Regions from separate parts of the Homo sapiens genome. Here region 1 is linked to region 2. Evidence: promoter capture Hi-C in human tissues and cell types (Jung and others, 2019). All regions are on one chromosome and are shown on one strand. The core of a region is centred on a gene start or on the middle of the fragment in contact, and the rest is flanking DNA. Distances in the headings are between cores, read along the strand shown. Region 1 holds the start of GPR89B (G protein-coupled receptor 89B). Region 2 overlaps ACP6 (acid phosphatase 6, lysophosphatidic).

Region 1 (5,140 bases), core at 2,641-5,140, 270 kb before region 2:
GGATCCAAGCATCTAGATCAAGCAGAAAAGGAAAGGGTCAAACAGATTAGGAGAAAATGTCCAGGATATCCTTTGGCTATTATAAATATTTACCGGTGGAGACAGATGTAAATTCAGAGTTTAGAGACCATATTTATATGACTTATGAAGCCACGACTGAAGACAGAGAAGTTGGGCAGTTTAGGACTGATGGTGGTATGTATAGTGGAAATGGATGATTAAAAAAAAAAATCACCAAGATTGCTATGAAATGGAAGAGAAAACAAGCAAAAATTTTAAGTTTATATGGTGGGGAGGGGAATGGAAGAAAAGAGAAACAGATATATACCTTTAATATTTCATTGTGGCCTCCTTTCACATTGACAAAGAAAGCTTAAAAAGACTTTCAGAACAAAATTATGTCCTTTGCAGCAACACAGATGCAGCTAGAGGCCATCATCCTAAGCAAATTAACCCAAGAACAGAAAACCAAATACCACATGTTCTCACTTCTAAGTGGGAGCTAAATATTGGGTACTCACCAACATAAAGATGGCAAAAACAGAAACTGGAGACTACTTGGGGGCAGGGGAGGGGAGAAGGGGGAAGGGTTGAAAAACTAATTATTGAGTACTACGCTCAGTACCTGGGTGACCGGATCATTTGTACCCCAAACCTCAGCTCCCACAATATACCCAGCACAAGTACCAAATCTAAAATAAAATAAAAGTTGAAAAAAAAAAAAGACTTAAACTACACACACACACACAAGTAGCTGGAGAATTCATTTACATCCAAGTAAACACAAATTCTGGCAAGATTATAGAGGATCCAAAAAGAAAGCAGAAGCAAAATGCAATTTCAAATAGCTTTGCAAATAAAATGGAAGGCGTATAGCTTCTTATTAAAAATGAGACTTAATACTTTCAGAATTGTACAGAGTCTTGACCTTAGGACTTAAGAGTGTACTCTGGAACTGATAAGTCTTATGACGGTATAGAGGGCTTAAAACATGAGTTAGTTAACAGTTGCTTTTTAAAAAGTGACTTCTGGGTTGAAAATTAGCTACTGTTAAAAAAAAAAAGATGGCCATCAGCAGGACAGTTATTAAAGAATTAACTATAAAAGACACCTTTCTTGGATCATTTATTCACCCTTTTAATCATTTAACAAATATTTATTAGTGCCTAATATGTGCCAGGTCCAAGGGATAGAATGGCAAATGAGAGCATGAATGCTACTCTCAAGGAGTTTATAATCTATGGAGGAGATAAACAAGTAATTACAAAACAATGTGGTAGTGTTGTTACAGGGGAAGTAGGTGAAGGGTACTATGGCAGTAGGTATAGGGACATCTAGTCCAGTCTAGGGGAAGCTTCTTGGGTGTTCAACTTGAGATCTGAAGGCTTAAAGGGGAGGGATATGAGGAAAAGGCCCAGAAAGAGAAAACACACTGTGTGGAAATCTGGAGGCACCATAGCATGGCCAGGTTAGGGAACTAAAAGAAGTTCAGGAAGTCTAAAGAATAAATTGGAGCCACAGCTGAAGAGAGAAGAGCCAGGGTCCCATCAATAAGGGACCTGAAAAGCCATGTAAAGGAGTTTGAACTTCATCCTGTGCCGTGGTGAGCAAGATTCAATACGTGACCTCTGATTTCAGATTTCATTTCAAATAAACCTTTCAGTTAATACAAAACAGAAAAAATGAGCAGGGAGGGGCGCAGGGGGCAATGGTGGTGTTTCCAAGGTAACCACACCTCTCTAGAGAGGTGCTTTTTATTAAACAAATATTCACTACAACTCTACTATGTGCCTGCAACTGATCTAGATGCTGGTGAATACAGGAGAGAACAAGACAGACAGTATCTTGGACTTCATGGACAGATAACAAACACATGAATATACAAATGAACCATAGTAATAAATGCCAAGAAGATAATAAAACATGGAAATGAGGAAGAAGGCAGCCGAAATGGAAAGCTACTTTGGTTGTGGGCAGGGTGTCAGGTAAAACCTTCCTAAAGCGACATTTTTATTAATACCGAAAGGATGATAAAGTAGCCACATAAATATCTGAACAGAGAACATTCCATGCAAAGGAATCTTTGGGTCTTTCTTCCACATTTGTAAAAACCAGGTTTAACAATTAATTACTGCATATGGATACATGTGTGAAGTGAAAGTCTATGATTATAAGGCATACAAAATTAGAAAGCCACTTCCTTGGTTCAACGTATCAATTATATCCATGCTAAAAATCGTAGAGGCTGCAATGCAAAGCCAATTTTCTACTGACATTCTTATCTTTATTCTAAGTGAAAAGAAAAGCTAATTAAATATTGTTATTTTTCTTAAATTGGTACTAAGGCTAAAAATAATCCTGAGTTGTCACCAAGGGCACTGGGTAGTCTTAGAAAGGTTTTAAGCAGAAGAGTTACATGTCTAGGTTTTTTTACATTAATACATTTGAATACTATGCAGCCAATAAAAACAATACTTATGAAAACTATAGAAAAGGTGGTAAATTTTAAAAATGAAAAACTATTGCATTAGAGCGGTAGGATTATGGATGGCTTTTCCTTCTTTCTTATTTTCTTAAATATTGTAAACAAGTTTTTGAAGAGAAAAGGACAATGCTCCGCTCTACGGAGACGAGTATTAGGATGAAGCAATACAAAAACTGAATCAAAGAACACAAATTTAGTTCACTTTAAGCCCCCAAAGGTAACTGTTTCTGTTATTTGCCGTTTGAGAGAAAGAACAAGCAAAAACAAACACACACACACAAAATCTTTATTGGAAAGATGAGGGGAAGAAGGTCAACAGGCAGTCTGAGCTTCACAAATATTGGCCAACAATTATTTATTGAATGCCTGCATTTGGAAGTGGGGATACAGCTATGAACAAGGCAGGATCTCAAAAAACAAAATCAGAAACACAGACATAAATGATGCCAGTGCTATGATGAATGCTAGGAAGAAACAATAATTAACAATAGATTACATGGTAAAAGCAAGAGGCTAACTAGACGAAACTTCTATTGAGCAGAGACAGTGTCTTACATGTTTTTACGCTCAGAGCTTTATATAATGGTCGATAAATGTTTGTTGACTGTACAAACAAATGAAGGTGGCCAATGGAGAAGAAATGAGGGTCAGAAAAACATCCGGAAAAGGTGGGTAACTAAGCAGAGGATAAAGGACGAGGTGTCAGTGCAAAAACGAAACCTTATACTTTCAAGCATAGGTATTACCTTATACTGATACTTTGAAGCAGCAAATTTCTCCACACCCGGATTCAGGATTTGACATCTAACAGCAAAGCCTGCACTGACGTGTCCTCAGTATCCAGTATTGGCGCGTCGCACACCGCGCGCCCAGAACCACACAGGCTTCCCCAGTCCAGGATCAGTTGGCGCAGCCCGGAAGCTTCGAGGAGCTCCTAGAACCGCCGCCTTAGCTGGCGGCGCCGGCTCTTAGCCTGGAGGTCGGCGGACCGCTTCCAAAAGTGGACCGAAATTCCGGGGATGGATGCCGGGTGGGGACGCGGACGGCCGCAGGCCAGCCTCCTGACAGCCGGGGCTGAGGGAACCGGCCGCAGCAAATCGCACACCCTCTCTGTGTGCCAGAGTGACTGGCGCAGGCCGCGTAAGAGAGGAGCGAGACCCCGGACCAGCCCGCACCGCGGAGGACCGGAGAGGGCGATTCGGTGAAGGGAGGCGGACGGGTGTCGGGGCGGGAGGCGGTGACTCACCTGGGAGGTAATCATGATGCTGGAGTCGATCAGGAAACTCATGGCGAAGTGTAAGGAAGGCTCCTGCCTCCACTTCCCACTCCCGGAGGCCACAGCACGCTGGGGCCACAGGCCCCCTCACACGGTCTGCCTTCTCCCAGGTGCTGCAGCCGGGACTGCGGCTCTCCAGCCCGACGCCGTCAAGCTGCGCCCCAGTCAGCCAATCAGCGGCTACATCCACAGCCCCGCCTCGGGCTCGGGGTGGGTGGGGCGGACGCTAGGCTTCCGCCGCGGAAGCCCCAGGGGCGGGGCTTATTAGGGGCGGTGCTAAAAGCAGCAATGCAAGGTAGCGTTAACGTTTCTGAGGCTGAAGGAGGTAGGGCCTGAGAGCTAAGTGGTAATTCTGTTTTGTAATGATCCTAAGATAATAATGGTAATTATAGTAAGTCGGGCATTGTGTCCTAAATGTTATAACTTTTACTTGACTCGGCAAATATGACTGTACAAAGTGAGGGAAGACTGGAAAGTCAGATGAGATATGAACAAATATAACTAACCAAATACATTTCTGTGACAACAATGAAAAGCACACTGTCTGTAGCAATTTAGTGATAATATTGTACTGCATATCAGTCAGGCCACAGGTGGAGTACTGCACTCCATGTACCACACTTTGAAGAGATTTTACAGGCCGGGCCGGCTCACACCTGTAATCCCAGCACCTGGGGAGACCAAGGCGGGCGGATCACCTGAGGTCGCAAGTTCAAAACCAGCCTGACAAGCATGGAGAAACCCTGTCTCTACTAAAAATACAAAATTAGCCGGGCGTGGTGGTGCATGCCTGTAATCCCAACTACTAGGGAGGCTGAGGCAGGAGAATCGCTTGAACCCGGGAGGGGAGGTTGCGGTGAGCCGAGATCGCGCCATTGCACTCCAGCCTGGGCAACAAGAGCGAAACTCCATCTCAAAAAAAAAAAAAGAAAAGAAAAAAGAAGAGAGAGATTCTACAGAGACATATTGGAGCTCGCTCAAATGTGAGCCACCAGATAAGGGCTGCTGGAAGGAGGCGAAGAAAGATGACTCAGAACATGACATCTGTCTTCATGTGAAAGAATGGGTAGAACTGATGTGGCACTACGAATTATCTGTAGGGCAAAGGACTGGAAGTTAATTGAAGATAGATTTTAATTCAAAACAAGGATCAGTTCTTTAAGAGTCTGAAGAAGGGTTATTTTAGGAAGTAGCTGCCTCTGCCCCCTTCCCACCTGTTGCAGTGGATCAAATATACACTGAATCACTACCTCATTCATTCAACACTCATTTCATGAAGGCTTAACGCATTGCTGTGGGGCTTACTCTGCCGCCGACCTGGGGCCTAGCTAGGCTTTGTAGTCTATATAGTCTCATAGTCCTGCAAACTGGCTCCAGCC
Region 2 (5,233 bases), core at 1,406-3,905:
AATGAGAATGAGAGTGTGTATGTGGGGTGGACACTATTATATGAAACTGATGTATCATCCATTCTTGAAAATCTGAAAACTGTACTTTAGACTTGACGTGACCTGGACTCCAGACTCCTAGGAGACGCCAAGGGTCCTCTCTTGGTGAATGTGCCTAACAGATTTCTTAGTGAGGCTGAATGGCCCTGTGGAGCTTTGTGTCAGGCCCTGTGGTGGACACTGGAACTACAAGGATGGATAATTCAGTCTTGCCTTTAAAGGAGTTTCAATGTGATAAAGCAGAGACAACAGATATCAATTAAGGCAATATGCTGGGAGCACTGGGAACACAAAGGAGGTGTCTCCAAATGTCCAAAACTGAAATCAGCTTTCCACCTGTTTTTCTGTCTTGGTCTTAGTTTTAGTCAAGGAATATCTCCATTACAAGGCTCAAAAATCAAAGTAGTCTCTTTTTTGTTCTTCTGTGTTTACCTACCAACACAGTCCCCACATAAAGCTTTTATTTACTCACTTGCCAAGTCTAACTCAAATGTCTTACATCTACCTCCTCTATTGTTAACTGGCTTAGATGAGGCCTTAGGCTCTCATGTGGACTATTGCTAACATCTCAAAATGGGCTTTTCTGCATCTAGTCTTCCCATTCCAATTGTGATGTATGCTGCCAGGTTTCAGATTTATTCTGTGGAGCCTGTGGGCTAAGAGGATGTTGAGCGGCTGGGGCTGTGGGATTCCCTCCTACTTCAACTAGAGAAATTCGAGTTTTTGCCTTTATACATACAAATCTAAAGTTAAACTTTATGTGGTATTTTCTGATTTAAAAATTGGAAAACCATTCCCAGGTTGAGGCAAACCAAACCACTTCTTTGCCATACACATTCTTTACCATCTCTGCTTTGCGCAAGCTTTCTAGTTATTTTTGGAATTCTGAATGTCACCCTTTATAAGTACAGGTATTTGCTTGTCTAAATACTATTCATTTAAAATGCTATTCCCTCAATGAAACTTCTCCTGAATCCCCAGCCAGAAGAGAAGGTCTGTCTTGCCTTTGAACTGCTATGGCCTTCATATGGTTTCTTGCAGCACATGTCAGCTTCTATTATGGTATTGCTGTCATTTACATTCACAGCTGGCCTTTTTTCTTTACTAACTTGAACACCCAGGAAAGGCAGGGTCAAGTTTTCTCAAGATGGGTATCTTCCACAGGAGCTGGCAAATTGTTGGAGCTATTAATTGTACCTACTGTGTGTGAGGCCCTTTGCTGGGAAACAGAAGTCAATAGATGACCGAGTCTCTGTTCTCAGGAAGCCAGGACAGACCAGTAAAGGAGCTCGTTTAATACACTTTGGTAAAGGCTACTAAAGAGAGCCACTGAAGCTACTGTGAAAGCATAAGGCCATGACCAAGGTTTCTGGGAACACTTAAGCTAAGTCTTAAGGAATGAACAAAAGTCTTTCTAAATGAATGAGGAGAGAAAATTCCAGGCATAAGAAACATGATACTGAAAGGCCATGAAATATGAGAAAGGAAAGGAAGTTGCGTGGCTAGTGAGTAAGTATGTAGAATAGGGAAGAAGTGGTAAGGGGGCTGCTAGAGAGGAGGTGGGGCCACATGAGCCATGAACCCTCGAAGGGTTTTTTTTATCCAGAGGGGTTAGAGGGTCAGAAAGAGGGAGCAGTGATTAACTGTGAAAGAAGGAAGAAGGCCTCTCTGTGAACACCTGGTCCTCTGATGTGTCAGAAGGAGGTTCAGGTGTTGGAGACCAGGTGCCAGTGGGACTGACACATGCCTTTGGGAAGAATGGAGGGCTCCCTAGATGCCAAGAGAATCTGAGGCTCCCAGTACCATTCTCCTGGGATAGTTCGGGGAGGGTAGAAGATAAATATGACGATATGTGACATAGTAGGTTTCCAAATGTTAGTTTTAAAACTAAACAAAGTAGTAGGAAATTGAGTTAAATTTTTTTTGTTATCAATGTTATAGGAATTCAGATTTAAAAGATAACCATCAAAAGCCAGAGTGGTCAGTGATAGGGAAGTAAGACTTGAGCTATCCTTGAACATTGAAGACAAGGTGATGGGCAGATAGGAACAGGAGTCCCTCCAAGCAAGAGAAGCAAGCTGGAAGAAGATGCAGAAACAGTGGGCAGGTTCTAGGTTGGAGGGGAGGAAAGAGGCAGTGAAGCTGAGTACAGGGGCTGGACAAAGGGGGTAGAAGTCCTTTTTTAAAATTTTTTTAAGAGATGGGGTCTTGCTGTGTTGCCCAGGCTGATCTTGAACTCCTGGCCTCAAGTGATGCTCCCACCTCAGCCTCCCAAAGTGCTAGGATTACAGGTATGAGCCACTGCACTCAGCCACGATGTAGAAGTTCTTGAAGGACAGATGCTTTCCTCTGAGACATTAGGAAAAAGTTACTGATATGATGACACTGGCTTAGCAAGATTAATTAGGTGATTTTGAAACATACAATGCATTATTATTTATTGTAGTCACCATCCTGTACAATAGATCACTAAAGCTTATTCTTCCTGTGTAACTGAAATTTTGTACCCATTGATAAAAATCTCTCTTTCCCCATTTACTGCACCCCCCCACCTCTGATAACCATCACTCTACTCTCTAATTCTGTGACTTTGACTTCTTTAGATTCTACACAGACAAGCATACCTTGAAGATATTGCAGATTCAGGTCTAGACCACCACAATAAAGCAAATATCGCAATAAAGTGAGACCCACAGTTGTTTTTTGTTTCCCAGTGCATATAAAAGTTGTGTTTACACTCTTCTGTATCCTATCATGCAATAGCATGTCTAAAAATGTACATACCTTAATTTAAAAATGTTTTATTCCTAAAAAGTGCTAGTGATTACCTGAGCCTTCAGTGAGTCATGATCTTTTTGCCAGTGGAGGGTCTTGCCTTGATGTTGATGGCTGCTGACTGATCAGGGTAGTAGTTGCTAAAGGTTGGGGTGGCTGTGGCAATTTCTAAAAATAAGACAACAGTAAAGTTTGCCACATTGATAGACTCTTCCTTTCATGAAAGATTTCTCTGTAGCTTATGACACAGTTTAATAGCATTTTACCCACAATAGAACATCTTTTGAAATTGGAGTCAATCTTCTCAAACTCTGCCACTGCTTTATCAATTAAGTTTATGTAATAAATCCATTGTTGTAATTTCAACAGTGTTCACACTATCTTCACCAGGACTAGATTCCCTCTCAAGGAACCACTTCTTTGTAGTAACTTCTCATGCATTCAAGTTTTATCATGAGATTGCAGCAATTCAGTCAGAACTTAAGGTTCCACATCTAATTCTAGTTCTCTTGCTATTTCCATCACATCTGCAGTTACTTCTTCCACGGAAGCCTGAATCTTCAAAGTCATCCATGAGGGTTGGAGTCAAATCTTCCAAACTTCGCTTAATGTTGCTATTTTGACCTCCTCCTTATAAATGTTCTTAATGACATCTAGAATGGTGAATTCTTTCCATAAGGTTTTCAATTTACTTTGCCCAGATTCATCAGAGGAATCACTATCTAGGGCAACAATAGCCTTACAAAATGTATTTCTTAAATAATAAAGACTTGAAAGTCAAAATTACTCCTTGGGCCATGGGCTGCAGAAAGGACATTGTGTTAGCAGGCACAAAAACAATATTAATTTTGTACATCTCCATTAGCGCCTTTGGGTGACTAGGTGCATTGTCAATGAGCAGTAATATTTGGAAAGGAATCAATTTTTTCTTTTGAGCAGTAGGTCTCAACAGTGGGCTTAAAATATTAAGTAGACCATGCTGTAAACAGATGTCCTGCCATGCAGGCTTTGTTGTTCCATTTATACAGCACAGTCAGAGTACATTTAGCATAATTCTTAAGGGCTGTAGGATTTGCAGAATAGTAAATGAGCCTTGGCTTCACCTTAAGGAAACCAGCTGCATTAATCCCTAATGAGAATCAGCCTGTCCTTTGAAGCTTTGAAGCCAGGCATTGACTTTCTCTCTAGCTATGAAAGTCTTAGCTGGGATCTTCTTCCTATATAGGCTGTTTCTTCTGCATTGAATATCTCCATGTTATCAATAAGGTTGTTTCACTTTCTCATTGTTTGTGTGTTCACCAGAGTAGTACTTTTAATTTCCTCCAAGAACTTTTCCTTTGCATTCATAACTTGGCTGTTTGGTGCAAGAGGCATAGGTTTTGGCTTATCTTAGCTTTCTACATGCCTTCCTTACTAAGCTTAATCATTTCTAGCTTTGGATTTAAAGTGAGAAACTTGAAACTTTTCCTTTCACTTAACACTTAGAGGCCATTGTAGGGTTATTAACTGGACTAATTTTAATATTGTTGTGTCTCAGGAAATAAGGAGGCTCAAGGAGAGGGAGAGAGATGGGGGAAATACCAGTCAGCAGAGCACTCAGAAAACACACAACATTTATTGATTAAGTTTGGCATCTTATATGGGGGCGGTTTGTGGCGCTCCCAAATAGTTAAAATAGTAACATCAAAGATCACAGAGTTCAGGATCAGCCTGGGAAACATGGCAAAACCCTGTCTCTCAAAAAAAAAAAATTAGCTGGGCATGATGGTATATGCCTGTAGTCCCAGCTGCTCGGGAGGCTGAGGTGAGAGGATGAGCCAAGGTAATGCCACTGCACTCCAGGAGGCAGACGTTTCAGTGAGCCAAGATCATGCCACTGTACTCCAGCCTGGGCAACAGAGCCAGACCCCATTTCAAAAAGAAAAACAAATCATAAATCATAGATCACCTTGACAGATTTAATAGTAATGAAAAAGTTTGGAATATTATGAGAATTACCAGATTTTACACAGAGACATGAATGAGCACATGCTGTTGGAAAAATGGCACTGATAGACTTGCTCAATGCAGAGTTCTCCAAACCTTCAATTTGTGAAAAATGCAATCTCTGTAAAGAGCAATAAAATGATGTATGCCTATGTTACTAAAAGGTTAACTTTACATATTTTCATCACGTAAAAATGAAAGTATGTGAGCTGATGGATTTTGTTTACATTAGTTAATCATATATCAAATGTAAATATATATGAAAACATCACATTGTACTCCATAAATATATACAATATACAATTATTTGTCAATTAAAAATAAAACAAAATATTTAAATGCAATAAAAATATTTTTTCCAAAAAGATTAATTAGTTGGCTATGGATAGATGGATTGTGCAGGTGAAAGGGAGGAGTTTGTCACAGGCACTAA

Evidence for each region. Contacts are between HindIII fragments. The study calls those that stand out against the background at their distance.
Region 1: the fragment with the promoter of GPR89B here is called in contact with a fragment that was not itself captured in region 2 in 5 of the 25 tissues and cell types used here (dorsolateral prefrontal cortex, liver, lymphoblastoid cells and 2 more).

What each region holds. Positions count from the first base shown.
Region 1 is chr1:147,927,170-147,932,309 of GRCh38, reverse strand. GPR89B (G protein-coupled receptor 89B) reads right to left here and starts at 3,890. Exons shown (of 14, transcript NM_016334.5): 1 at 3,732-3,890. The coding sequence starts at 3,773. LOC105371229 (a long non-coding RNA gene) reads left to right here and starts at 3,992. Exons shown (of 3, transcript XR_922074.4): 1 at 3,992-5,140. The HindIII fragment of the contact is 5,422 bases long and covers 2,382-5,140 here.
Region 2 is chr1:147,660,648-147,665,880 of GRCh38, reverse strand. All of the region lies in intron 1 of ACP6 (acid phosphatase 6, lysophosphatidic), which reads left to right. Among named protein-coding and RNA genes, the nearest start is that of ACP6, 7.3 kb to the left of the region's middle. The HindIII fragment of the contact is 6,095 bases long and covers 1-5,233 here.